2 separate regions of the Homo sapiens genome follow, and region 1 is linked to region 2. The links are contacts of gene promoters, found by promoter capture Hi-C in human tissues and cell types (Jung and others, 2019). All regions are on one chromosome and are shown on one strand. The core of a region is centred on a gene start or on the middle of the fragment in contact, and the rest is flanking DNA. Distances in the headings are between cores, read along the strand shown.

Evidence for each region. The method cuts DNA at HindIII sites, captures the fragments that hold promoters and counts their contacts. A contact is called where the count stands out against the background at its distance.
Region 1: a contact is called between a fragment that was not itself captured here and the fragment with the promoter of SYDE1 in region 2, in 1 of the 25 tissues and cell types used here (H1 embryonic stem cells).

The regions. Positions count from the first base shown.
Region 1 is chr19:16,121,949-16,128,331 of GRCh38, forward strand. RAB8A (RAB8A, member RAS oncogene family) reads left to right here. Exons shown (of 8, transcript NM_005370.5): 4 at 3,522-3,599; 5 at 5,489-5,578; 6 at 6,078-6,143. It overlaps HSH2D-AS1 (HSH2D and RAB8A antisense RNA 1), which reads right to left. Exons shown (of 2, transcript NR_199156.1): 2 at 1-5,039. Among named protein-coding and RNA genes, the nearest start is that of RAB8A, 13 kb to the left of the region's middle. The HindIII fragment of the contact is 7,709 bases long and covers 1-6,383 here.
Region 2 is chr19:15,102,182-15,108,796 of GRCh38, forward strand. SYDE1 (synapse defective Rho GTPase activating protein 1) reads left to right here and starts at 5,220. Exons shown (of 8, transcript NM_033025.6): 1 at 5,220-5,340. The coding sequence starts at 5,253. The HindIII fragment of the contact is 3,798 bases long and covers 3,966-6,615 here.

The DNA.
Region 1 (6,383 bases), core at 2,442-4,941, 1.0 Mb after region 2:
TCTTAGGAACAGGCTTTGTGCCCCGGCCTACCCCCATGTACATACCTCCCCTTCTGGCTGCAGAGACAATGCAAGGTTTAAATAAAGTGGAAACATAATTCTTTGGGAATGAAGAAAGACACAGGAAGCCGGTTCTTCCAGGTGAGCTCAGTGCAGTTAAAGCCGGCATGCCCCGACTTTTAGGAGCTGTCACATGACCTGCATCTGTCTCTGAAATTTGCTACCAAAAGCTTGAAGATCTTCCAGGAGCTGACCTGCCCTGGGCTGTCGGCCGTTATATCCGTCACCCAGGCCTGAGGCGGGATGACGTGATGGGAAGACTCAGTCATCATCCCTCAAAACATTTCTCAAGCACCTTCTCTGGGCCAGGCCTTAACTAGATGCAGAAGGCGGCCAGGGATGGGACGAGGTCCTGTGTCAGGGGCCCTGTGTGTACATGGCAGGGCATTCAGGGGTAGAGGGAGCAGGAGGTGGAGCCCCTGGACCTGACCTGAGACCCTGGCTTGCCCACTGAGCTCCATCTCCTGACTTGGAAAAGGGAACGGAGCACAGCACTGTGTCTCGGGCTGTGCTGAGGATAAACGGCTGCCTCTCCCCATTCCCAGGTCCCTCTGCTCCCCACTCTTTCCTCCGCATACCCCATCATTTAATTGCTCAGGCAGCTGCCTGTTTCCTCGATGAGGGCAGCGCCACATCCTGGTCCCTGCCATCTGCCTGGCCCCGGGGAACCTGCTGGGTCTGCAGTAGTTGCTCAGGAAAGACTTGTGGAGGGTGGAGATGGAAGGAGGCATTATGTGTTTAGAGCATCCCACACGGCATCCGAAACCTCATGGCAACCCACTCGTGTGGGCTGCAGCCTTAGTGTGCCTCAGTAAAATTAATGTATTTCTTTCCCCCCACCTCACAGTTCTCTGGTGGAGGGTGGGCAGGCGGCCTGAGGGCACTGGGGTCTTGGGGAGCTTCAGCCTCTGGAGAAAACTGTGACCTGGGGCCTGTCCCGATCTTCTCTGGGCCCAAATAGCCACCTTCCACCCTGCCCTGACCACCAAGCCCTCCCCTGCACCAGGCAGTGGGCCCAGGTCTTAGCTCAGATTATCTCATTGCATTTTGGCTGTGAACCTCTTTGTGCAGGCGCCATTGTCATCCCTGTTTTATAACAAAGAACCTGAGGTTTGGCCCGGTGGCCTGCCCCGCTGAAGTTCACTCAGCAGGTAAATGGCTAGGCTGGGCTGGGCTGTTTGTCTCTAGCACCCACATCCTCAACCAGCACCAAGATGATCGTGGCTTTCCATCCTCCTAGACCCAGGCCAACCTGAACAGATGCCACCACTGGCTGCATGTGGCTATTTGAATTTACCCAATTAACATTGAAAATCCAGCCAGGCGCAGTGGCTGATGCCTGTAATCCCAGCACTTTGGGAGGCCGAGGTGGGTAGATCTCTTGAGGTCAGGAGTTGGAGACCAGCCTGGCCACATGGTAAAATTCCATCTCTACTAAAAATACAAAAATTAGCTGGGCGTGGTGGCGGATGCCTGTAATCCCAGCTACTCAGGAGGGTGAGGCAGGAGAATCGCTTAAACCTGGGAGCCGGAGGTTGCGGTGAGCCGAGGTTGCACCACTGCACTCCAGTCTGGGCAGCAGAGCAAGTATCCGTCGCTTAACTACTTAATTAATTAATTAATTTTAAAAAACATTGAAAATCCAGCTCCTTGGGTCAAAGCAGCTATGTTTCTGATGCCCTAGAGCCTTGTGTAGCCAGTATCAGTCATATGGGACAGCACCACCATTGCAGCTGTGTCCTCATCTCTGTCAGCATGCTCATAGACCCTTGGGCCTCAAAATCCCAAGTTTGGGAAGCATTGGATGCCTAGAGACCCATGGTGAGGTTTGCCCAGACGGGGCCCTGGAAAATAGTCACTTGGAGCCCTGAGGGGTGTTTCCAGGAAAACCTGGAATAGGATGGCTGGCTCAGTGTTTTCCAGGTGCTTCTGCTTGATTCTAAGAGAGAGCTCTACCCACTGCCCCACTAACGTCCAGGTTCTCCCCTCAGCTCCCTGAAATAGGTATAATCCAGGAATTTGAGTCTTAGGCACATGTCACCAACTTAGTGGTGAAGGCAGGAATCCTGGGCTTTCAGAGGGTCCAGTCCCCGGATAAAGGGCCCCACGCCCCCTGTCCCTGACCATGTCACAGTCACAGGGTGTGCCCACCGTGGATGGGGCATGGCAGACATCATGGGCCACTGCAGCCTTGAGGTTCTTCGCCATGGTTGCGGCTGACTGTGAGGCCATTATTCATGTCCCTGAATTCCCAGGAGGATTTGGGGTTGCAGTGACTTTCTTGCCCCATCTGTGTCGTTTTTGTCCCACACTCTTGCACCCACATCTGTCTCACCATTACCACATGGCCCGTGTCCTTATTCTGCAAACTTGGATGGCCCCAGACAACTTGGCCAGCAGCAGAAGTCATCAGTGCCCTCAGGTGCCACAGATGCAGGGCTGGGCCTGGGGAGCAGGTAGCGAGGAGGAAGGAAGAAATCCAGGCCTGGCCATGAGCAGGCCACGTGCCTTGGAGCCCAGGATGCCCGGCAACAAAGGGGGACTTGTGATGGCACTGCAGGCTGGCCCGCTGTGGGCACTCCACAAGGACATCGAGAACCACACAGACCGTCAGAGGGTGGCCCCCACATGTGGGTTCTGGGGCTGAAAAAGGCCCAGGGATATTGCTGAGAGGATAGGTGTCATCAGTGCTTTTGGAGTTAGCCCCCCCCCGCCCCCCGTGCTTGAATCTTAAAGGTCACGTCTCTGTGCCTCAGTTTCCCCTTGCATCGCATGGGCATGTTTGCGCTTGTCCACAGCAGTAGCGAGGCTGTGGACCCAGGCTGAGGCGGGGCTGCCCCGAAGCTCTTCCAGGACCCACGAGCCGTCTCCCAGTTGCTCACGTCTAGGTTAGGGAACTGGAAGGGCCTTGGCACTCTCGGCTCCATCTTCACACAGCCGGTTCCCTCTGTGGTGGGGTCACTGGAAGTTGTGTGGATGTCGGGTCAGGACTTCCTGGGCTCAGTTGTGCCTGGTAGGTGGCTCAGGCAGAGCGTGGGGTGAGCAAGGGGTGAAGAGGAGGCCGATTGCAGGGGAGGGTCAGCGTGAGGGGAGTGCTGCTGGCAGTGGGCCTGTGGACCGGCTCCCACCGTCAGGCTGCACCACCCCGTGGGCCATGAGGGGAGCCAGCCGGGCTTGTCAGCGAGTGCGTGGCAGGGGCTGGCCTGTGAGGCAGAAGGGTCACCTCAGCGGCCCGGGGGGCAGGACAAGGCTGGTGCCAGAACCCAGCAGAAAGAAGGGCCACAGGGATGGAGAGGAGGGGGCTGGCTTCCGGGGCTCCACAGAGGTGGGGAGGGCGGCAGCTAATGGGCCTGGCTGTGCAGTGGGTGCTGGGCTCCCCACCACTGTTCTCTGGTGCCGCTGAGGCCTCCCTTCCAGAGCCTGCAGCCGATCAGGCACCTGTGTCTTCTCTCCCCGCGCAGGGCATCATGCTGGTCTACGACATCACCAACGAGAAGTCCTTCGACAACATCCGGAACTGGATTCGCAACATTGAGGAGGTGAGGCCCTCCGGCTCCTCCCACTGTCCCTGCTTCAGTCCTTGTCCCAGAGCCCTCTGGTTTACTCATGAGAAGGCCAAGGTGCAGAGACACATACAGGCCACTTGCCCACAGCCTCCTAGTCAGGGACATGGTGGGAGCAGGGACTGAGATGCAAGCAGCCGGCCCCAGGGACCACACACTGGCCTGGCCCCACCCCGGAGCCCCTCGGAGCCCATCCCTCCAGCTAGGCTGTTGGATCTGGCCAGTGTCATGGTTATAAGAGAAAGGATATCCAAGCTTGTGGTCACCATGAGTGTTGGGTGCTTTCTAGAGAAGGAAGGGTCTAGCACAGGTGTGACCCTTGTAGTTGGAGGGTGTGGTGAGCAGGCGTCAGTTGTACTTTGAGCTATATCGGAGCAGGGTGTGACCTGGTACAAACGACCTGTGTTCAGACCTTGAACCATAGAGCAGTGAGAAGTAGGCCAACCCCTCCTCCCCTCCCAAAGCCAGCATCTTCATCTTCTGCTCCCCAAAGAGCTGACCTCACCCCCAAAGCCTTCCTGGCTGCCGGCACCTGCAGCTTTCTATAACTAACCATGTGGGGCTTCAGGTCTGAGGCACAGCCAGAGAACTTTTCCCATCTATAAAACCACAGCAAAAGGGCATATCACTGTCCACCCAGGACTCATGGACCTCCCAGGCCAGGCCGAGAGGCCACCCCATCATTTGTGAGTCATTGCACTGGGCTCACCTCCCCAGTGACCCTGAGAGGGCTGTGCTGCCAAATTTGCCAGTGCAGGGCTGCACCCCAGCTGGGAAAGCTGTCTTCATCCGTGGAGAGGAGGAGAGCCTGGTCTTTGTGAAAGGTCTCTGTTTCTGGCCAGCGGGCAGGAGCCACCTTCTGGTTCATGGGAAGTGAGGCAGGGAGTGGCGCAGTAGGTTCCAGAGACCAAGTCTGAGCTGGTGGAAGAAGACAGCAGTTTCCAGTGTCCCCGTCCTCCAGGAAGCGTGGTCCGCTCCATGGGGACCCAGGGAGACTTGACGAAGGAGCTGCCTTTGGGTATGAGGGCAGAGTTTGGGCAACATCAGACAGGGTGGTGAAGTGCCTGCAGCTGGTGACGGCCTCGAGTTGCGACCACCTCAGGCACGGCCTGTTTCTGGAGCCCAAAAATAGTTGAAATGTCAGGGCCAGGCGAGGTGGCTTATGCCTGTAATCCCAGCAGTTTGGGAGGCTGAGGCGGGCAGATCACCTGAGGTCAGAAGTTTGAGACCAGCCTAGCCAACATGGCGAAACTCTGTCTCTACTAAAAATACAAAAAATTAGCCTGGTATGGTGGCAGATGCCTGTAATCTCAGCTATTCGGGAGGTTGAGGATCGCTTGAACCTGAAGGCAGAGGTTGCAGTGAGCCGAGATCATGCCACTACACTCCAGCCTGGGAGACAGAACGAGACTCCATCTCAAAAAAAAACAAAAAAAAAAGTGTCAAAGCAGAAGGTCCCAGGACAACAGCTGGGGCCTCTTGCAGAGGAGCCAGGGAGGGAAGGAGGAAAGCCAAGGTCGGGGGGTAAATATCTCAGCCTCACTCACCTCCCATAGGCTAGACCCGCCCAGCATCCCAGGTGCGGGGGCTTGATTGATACAGCCATAGAAGCTGCCAGAAAGCATTTCAGAAAATGTGCATTTGCTCAGAGTAGCAGCTAGAACCCTGGCCCCAGCCCTGGCATTGGCTGTGTGACATGGGGCCGGCTGCTTGGCCTCTCTGAGCTTCAGCTTGTCCCTTAGACCAGGCTGTACCTAGCAGTCCTGACCCCACCGCTCTGATTTCTGGGGACAGACTGTGTGTTGGCAGAGGCACCTGGCCTGTGTCATCCGGTCTGATCCCCCGTCTGTCCCCCTCCCTCTCAGCACGCCTCTGCAGACGTCGAAAAGATGATACTCGGGAACAAGTGTGATGTGAATGACAAGAGACAAGTTTCCAAGGAACGGGGAGAAAAGGTGGGCATGGTGGCACAAGGGGCAGAGGGCCTCGGGGTCTTGGGGTTCTTGTGCAGAGGCCTTCCCCTGTCCCTCCTCTGCCCCAGGGGCCTGAGACGAGTTGGTCACCCCAGTGGGGCACGTGCCATGGGATGACAGAAGCACACACCCAGCCGGGGCTTCTTGGGTGCACTCTGCGGGCATCTCATCAAAACCTACCATGGCCCCGCTCCAGACTTTCAAGACCACAGGAGCGGGGAACAGAGCCATAGTTTGATCCCAGCAGGTCCCCGCCACCCTCCCATCTCAGCTGCCATCCCCAGCAACTCCATGCCCTGTGAGGCCCTGTGGAGGGGCATTCACTATAGAATTGAGGGAGTGATCCAGGAAGTCACGCCCACAGCCCCAGCCCTGTTGCTGCTCCCTCTTGGCGCCGGCCCTGCCTTCAGCTCCTGTTTTAGGCAAGCTCAGATGCGCCCGGCGGCTGGTGTGCTCATGCGTGTGCCTCCCTCTCTCACAGCTGGCCCTCGACTATGGAATCAAGTTCATGGAGACCAGCGCGAAGGCCAACATCAATGTGGAAAATGTGAGTCCCGGGCCCTGCTGGGAGACATGGGGCCTGCAGGATCGGCCCCTTCAGGCTAAAGGGGGAGCTGGCGTCCTCCGAGGAGGTCCTGCCAGACGGACCAGCCTCGGGCTCAGGGCTGCCAGTCAGTCCTCTGAGGGACATTTCCTGGGCAGTGCCACGTGCCAAGCACAGGCAGCCCCTGGGAATGTGCCATCAGCAGGGACAGGCACCACAAAGGGCACCTAGGACGCATCTCAC
Region 2 (6,615 bases), core at 3,970-6,469:
TGGGTGACAGAGGGAGATTATGTCTCTAAAAATAATAAGGCCAAGCACGGTGGCTCACACCTGTAATCCCAGCCACTTGGGGGGCCAAAGTGGGAAGATCACTTGAGCCCAGAAGTTTGAGAACAGTCTAGGCAACATGATGAGACCCTATCTCCACAAAAAAATAGAAAAATCAGCCTGTGGCATGGTGGCACATGCCTGTAGTTCCAGTTGCTTGGGAGGCTGAGGCAGGAACATCACTTGAGCCTAGGAGGTTGAGGGTGCAGTGAGTTGTGGTAGTGCCACTGCACTACAGCCTGAGCAACAGAGCAAGAAAAATAAATAAAATAATAATAATAAAGTAAATAAAAATAACATGAAAATAATTTTTAAAAAATTTGAGACAGAGTCTTAGTCACCCAGGCTGGAGTGCAGTGGCACGATCTTGGCTCACTCCAACCTCTACCCTCTGGGTTCAAGCGATTCCCCTGCCTCAGCCTCCCGAGTAGCTGGGATTACAGGTGCCTGCCACCATGCCTAGCTAATTTTTATATTTTTAGTAGAAACGGGGTTTCACCATCTTGGCCAGGCTAGTCTTGAACTCCTGACCTCGTGATCCACCCGCCTCAGCCTCCCAAAGTGCTGGGATTACAGGCATGAGCCACAGTGCCCGGCCATGAAAATAAATTTTTTTAAAAGAAAAGAAAATGGGCCAGGCACGGTGGCTGACCCCTGTAATCTCAGCTCTTTGGGAGGCCAAGGTGGATGGATCACAAGGTCAGGAAATCGAGACCATCCTGGCCAACATGGTGAAACCCCATCTCTACTAAAAATATAAAAATTAGCTGCACGTGGTGGTGTGTGCCTGTAATCCCAGCTACTCAGGAGGCTGAGGCAGCAGCATCGCTTAAACCAGGGAGTCACAGGTTGCAGTAAGCCAAGATCGTGCCACTGCACTCCAGCCTGGGCAACAAAGCAAGACTATGTCTCTATAAAAGAAAAGAAAAGAAAATGTACGCATACAGGCTCTAAAATCTGTACAGCAACTAGCAAAATCCACAGGAATAAGCATACAAACATCATTATGAAACTTAGAATTCATAACCATTTCATTACATACAATTTGCAGATAATCTGTTCTCACTTATGGAAATTTCTGATTGCTAAGAAAGAATCAGAGCCAATGGTGAATTAAATAGGCTACATGCAGGCAAATAAAGACAACAGGAAAAGTACAAAAACTCAAAAAGATTTACACAAAATAATAATAATAAATATTTATGTGGTATGTGGGTGTCATATGGGTGGGGCTAAGGGTTGCTCTCACTCCCATGTCAGACCCCAGCTCCTCTGAGACTCTGAAATACCCCATTGGGACCTTAGTCCTGCAGCCTCTACCCTCAACTTGTAAACAGGTATTGTCTTGACCCCTGACTTCTTTCCCCATTGTCAATAGCTGCCTCAAAGACATCTGCGCAGGGATCTCATAGGGAGGAGGGTGCACTCCACCCTTTTACAGACTGATGCCCCCCAAACACACATATCCAAGAAAAGTGAACAGCACCTAGGAGAACTGTATATCAACAGTTGTATAATGAGTATACCAATATATGCATAATGAGAGTCCCAGAAGGAGAGAAGTGAAAGGAGCAGAAAGAATATTTGATGAGGCTGGGTATGGTGGTTCATGCCTATAATCCCAGCACTTTGGGAGGCCAAGGTGGGCAGATCACTTAAGGTCAGAAATTTGAGACCGGCCTGGCCAACATGACGAAAACCCATCTCTACTAAAAATACAAAAATTAGCTGGGCATGGTGACAGGCACCTGTAACCCCACCTACTTGAGAGGTTGAGGCAGGAGAATCACTTGAACCCAGAAAGCAGAGGTTGCAGTGAGCCAAGACCATGCCTCTGCACTCCAGCCTGGGCAACAGAGTGAGACTCCATCTCAAAAAATAATAATAATAATATTTGATGAAATAATGGCCAAAAAACTTCCCAGAAGCCCAGAATTGATGAAAGACATGAATCTACATATCCACAAAGCTCAACAAACTCCAAGTACAATAAACACAGAGAACCACACAAAGACACATTAAAACCAAACACACACAGCCTCCTCGTCCAGGCCTCTTGGACACCCCCTCCTATACAGACCTCCATCACCTGACACCTGATCTCCTACCTGAATATTCAGCAGTGAACAACATAGACAAGCATCACTTGATCACTTGGTGGAGACCCAGTCTGGACGAGGAGGCAGATAAACTAGAACAAACCACTGGGACTGTTAAATTCAAGTTGTGGCAAGTGTTAGAAGAAAGGAAACTGAGTAATGTGATACTGACTAGACAGAGGTGGTGGACAGAAAGGGTCTCCCTAGAAGGTGCCATTGGACCTAAAGGATGAGAGAGAGGTGGCCTCAGAAGAACCAGGGCTTCCCAGGCAGAAGGAACCATGTGTGCAAAGGACCTGAGGCAGAAATAGCTTGATATGAAGGAGAACCAGAAAGGAGGCCATGGTGAGTGAATGGGACAGCCAAAGAGATGAGGCTGGAAGTCTTGTGAGACCATGCTGGGAATCTGAATTTTATTCTAGGTGAGGTGAGCAGTCATAGGAACACTATTCAGCAGGATGGTGCCACAATCTGATTTCAGTTTTAAGTCCACTGTGGGTAATATATGGAGAATGAAATGTAGGGCTAAGACAGGTTATATTTTCCCAGATGGCCACAATATCTCCCACCCTACATCCACTTGTACAATGTCACCTTGACATGCCTCCCATGTAGAGAGGTATAATCTGTGCCCCCTTTCCTTGAATCTGGTGGCAGAAGTGACACAGCATGACACTCAAGGCTGGGTCAGAAGAGATGCAACTTCTTCCTTGTTCACTTTTAGAGGGCTGGGTGGCTGTCTAAGAAGTCTGACTACCCCAAGACCACCATGCTGGAAGGAAACCCGAACCACACGGAGAGGCCTGTGTAGCTACCCTGGTCCACAGCCCCAGCAACAGCTGGCGTCAGTTGCAAGACCTCTGAGTGAAGACACCTCCAGATGACTCAGGACCCTGCCATTTTTTAGTCACCCTCTAGCCTAAGTCTCCCCTGTCCAAACTGAACCACAGCATCTGTGAGCATCATGTAAACCAAAAGGTATCTCAGATAAGTCTCAATAAATTTAGAAAGCTTATTTTGCCAAGGTTATGGACATGCCTGTGACACAGACTTAGAAGCTCCTGACAACATAAACTAGGGTAGTCAGGGCCACTACCTTGATTCAGGTCTGTAATCCTAGCTACTTGGTAGGCCAAGGCGGGCAGATCACTTGAGACCAGGAGGGTTTTTTGTTTTGTTTTGTTTTTTTGTTTTGTTTTTTTGAGACGGAGTTTCACTCTTGTTGCCCAGGCTGGAATGCAGTGACACAATATTGGCTCCCTGCAACCTCCGCCTCCCGGGTTCAAGAGATTCTCCTGCCTCAGCCTCCCGAGTAGCTGGGATTATAGGCATGCACCACCACCCCCAGCTAATTTTGTGTTTTTAGTAGAGAAGGGGTTTCCCCATGTTGGTCAGGCTGGTCTCGAACTCCCAACCTCAGGTGATCCGCCCGCCTTGGCCTCCCACAGTGCTGGGATTAGAGGCGTGAGCCACCGCACCCAGCCGAGCCCAGGAGTTTGAGACCAGTCTGGGCAACATGATGAGACTCTATCTCTACAAAAAGTAGGGAAATTAGCCAGGTATGGTGACACATGCCTATAGTCCCACTTGCTCGGGAGGCTGAGGCAGGAGCATCACTTGAGCCCAAGAGGCTGAGACTGCAGTGAGCTGTGGTGGTACCACTGCACTCCACCTTGGTCTAGTTTTATATATTTTAGGGAGACATGAGACAGCAATCAATATATGTAAGATGCACATGGGTTTGGTCTGGGAAGGCAGGACAACTCAAAAGTAGGGAGAAGGCTTCCAGGTTATAGGTGGATAAGAGAGAAACAATTGCATTCTTTCGAGTTTCTGACTAGCCTTTCTGAATATGCAATTTACAGAGATAGTCACTTATGCCTTAGTCTGGCTTAGTGAAACAAATAGGTAAGGAAGCGATCAGATATGTGTTTGTCTCATGTGAGCAGAGGGACAATTTTGAGTTCTGCCTGTCCTTCATCCATAAGGAATTTCCTTGTAGGCAAATTGTGGGGGAGGTATGTAGCTTTTTTTTTCTTTTCTTTTCTTCTTTTTTTTTAGACGGCATCTTGCTCTGATGACCAGGCTAGAGTGCAGTGGTGCAATTTTGATTCACTGCAACCTCCACCTCCCGTGTTCAAGCAATTTTCCTGCCTCAGCCTCCCAAATAGCTGGGATTACCAGTGCCCACCCACCATGCCTGGCCAATTTTTTTTCTTTTTCATATTTTTAGTAGAGATGGAGTTTCACCATGTTGGCCAGCCTGGTTTCGAACTCCTGACCTCAAGTGATCCGTCGCCTCAGCCTCCCAAAGTGCTAGGATTACAGGAGTGAGCCACCGCGCCCAGCTAGCTTTTTTAACCTTGTAGCTATCTTACTTAGGAATAGAATGGGAGGCAGGTTTGTCCTACACAGTTACCAGTTTGACTTCTTCCTTTTGGCTCAGTGATTTGGAGGTCTCAAGATTTATTTTCCTTTCACAATCACGACATGGTTGTTTTACATCATTACGTTTGGGGATGGTTTGTCAAACAGCAGTAGTAATTGGAATTTGGAGGTGAGAGAATTGAGTGGGGAAAGAGTGGCATGGGGAGACCAAGGAAGAAGCTTGGGGTGGGGTGGGTAGTGGGGACGGTCATTGAAACGAATGACACTACGGCTTGCACCAGGTTGAAGCAGTACCTGGCAAGGAGAGAGAGGATACGTGGAGGCTGCGATTTGGAGACAGACCCAAGAGAACTTCCTGGATGCCATCACCCAGAGTCCCATCCAGGGAGGGTGGGTGAGGTGGAAGACAAGGGATCGGGCCTGCGCCACGATCGTCACGTCCCATCGAAGCTGGAGCGGATCCGGGCACCCGGAGCCCCCATTCCAACCCCTCCCGGCCCCAGGCAACTACATCTCCCAGCATCGCCCGCTCGGGCCGCGGGAAAGGGGAAAAAAAAAAAAAGTTTGGGCCAAGCATTCCCGGAATGTGCTTCCTGCTGGCGCGGGGCGGGGGGCGGGCGGGGAGGCCCGGGCGGGGCGGGGAGGGCGCGGGGCGGCGCGGCCGGAGCCCGGGGCGCGCACTCGGCTCGGCCCGGCCCGGGCCGCAGCATGGCCGAGCCGCTACTCAGGAAAACCTTCTCCCGCCTGCGGGGCCGGGAGAAACTTCCCCGGAAAAAGTCGGACGCCAAGGAGCGCGGTAAGCGGAGATCGGTGGGGAACAGGGGGCGCCGAGCCCCACCCGGCCTGGGAGCGGGGTCCCAGGGCCCCGAGGACAGACGGTGGGGGGGATCAGGGGGAGCCCCCCGCACCCCGCTGCAGACTGGGGTGCCTCCAGCCAGGGGAGGGTAGGGGTCCTGGAAGGAAGGGGCTGGGAGGGAGGGGGGCGCGGACCGTTATGTGCTGCTGGCCGGGGATGCCAGCGCTGCGGGCTCCTTGGGAGGCCCGGGAGGGGGCCTCGCCCACGACAGGAAATGGGGCCGCGACTGAGGGCCTGGAGGGTGGAGGGGAGGAGGGGCTGGGAGGCCGGGACACTGGGGCCCAGTCGGGCTGGGCAAGGGGCATCGGGAGCCCTGGAGGCGCAGGATGGGAGATGGGAGGCGTACTCCTGCAAAGGAAAGAGAGGGGCGGCCCGTCAATCAGAGTAGCTGCCCCCTCCGCCTCCCACCTACTAACAGTGACGGCAACTGCGCCTGCCTTAGCCCCAGGAAACTGTCCCTTTTATACAGATGGGGAAACTGAGGCACGGAGCAATTGGGTCATGTGCCCAGGGCCATCGACTTAAACAGCTCTTTGGACTATGCTACAAACAGAGACCCTAGAGGGTGGACATCAGAGGTGGCCAGAGGAGGAGTTCAGCAGGGTAGCAAGTAAAAACCTTAGAGAAACAGCTGCGTGGGATAGGGGGACCCAGGAAGGAAGGAGTTAAAGGAGGAAGGCCAGACCATTCCATGGACGTACCCCTTCCCCCCAGGCCTTCCCAAAGATTCCCAATGTTCCCAGGGAAGGGAGAAGGGACAGAGATGCCCAAACACAAACACACACAGGAAACAGCCCAGGACATGAGACAGGAGAGGAGGGAGGGAAGGGGAAGTCCCAAAGCATTGAGCGTGGGGGGTCTGGCCTGGGCTGAGGGACAAGGGCCCATCCCAGGATGGCGACAGAGTTTGGAAGACAGGAGGGAGGGTAAAAGGGGCAGGGGACTGGGAGTGACTGTGCTGCAGGGAATAGAAAACCCAGCTCCTCACTCCTGAGCACGTAGTGCCTGCTGTGGGCTGTATACTTTTCCAAAAGGCTCCTGGAAGCCTCCCTGGACATGGAAATCACATCCCCCCATTTCACAGGAGGATACTGAGCCTCAGAGAGGGAAGCGACTTGCCCAAGGCCACGCAGGTGCAAAGCTCCATGCCACGGTTATTGAGAGGGTAGAGGAAGTGGAGACTGGAACGCAGTACCTACGGGCCCCAGGAAGCCT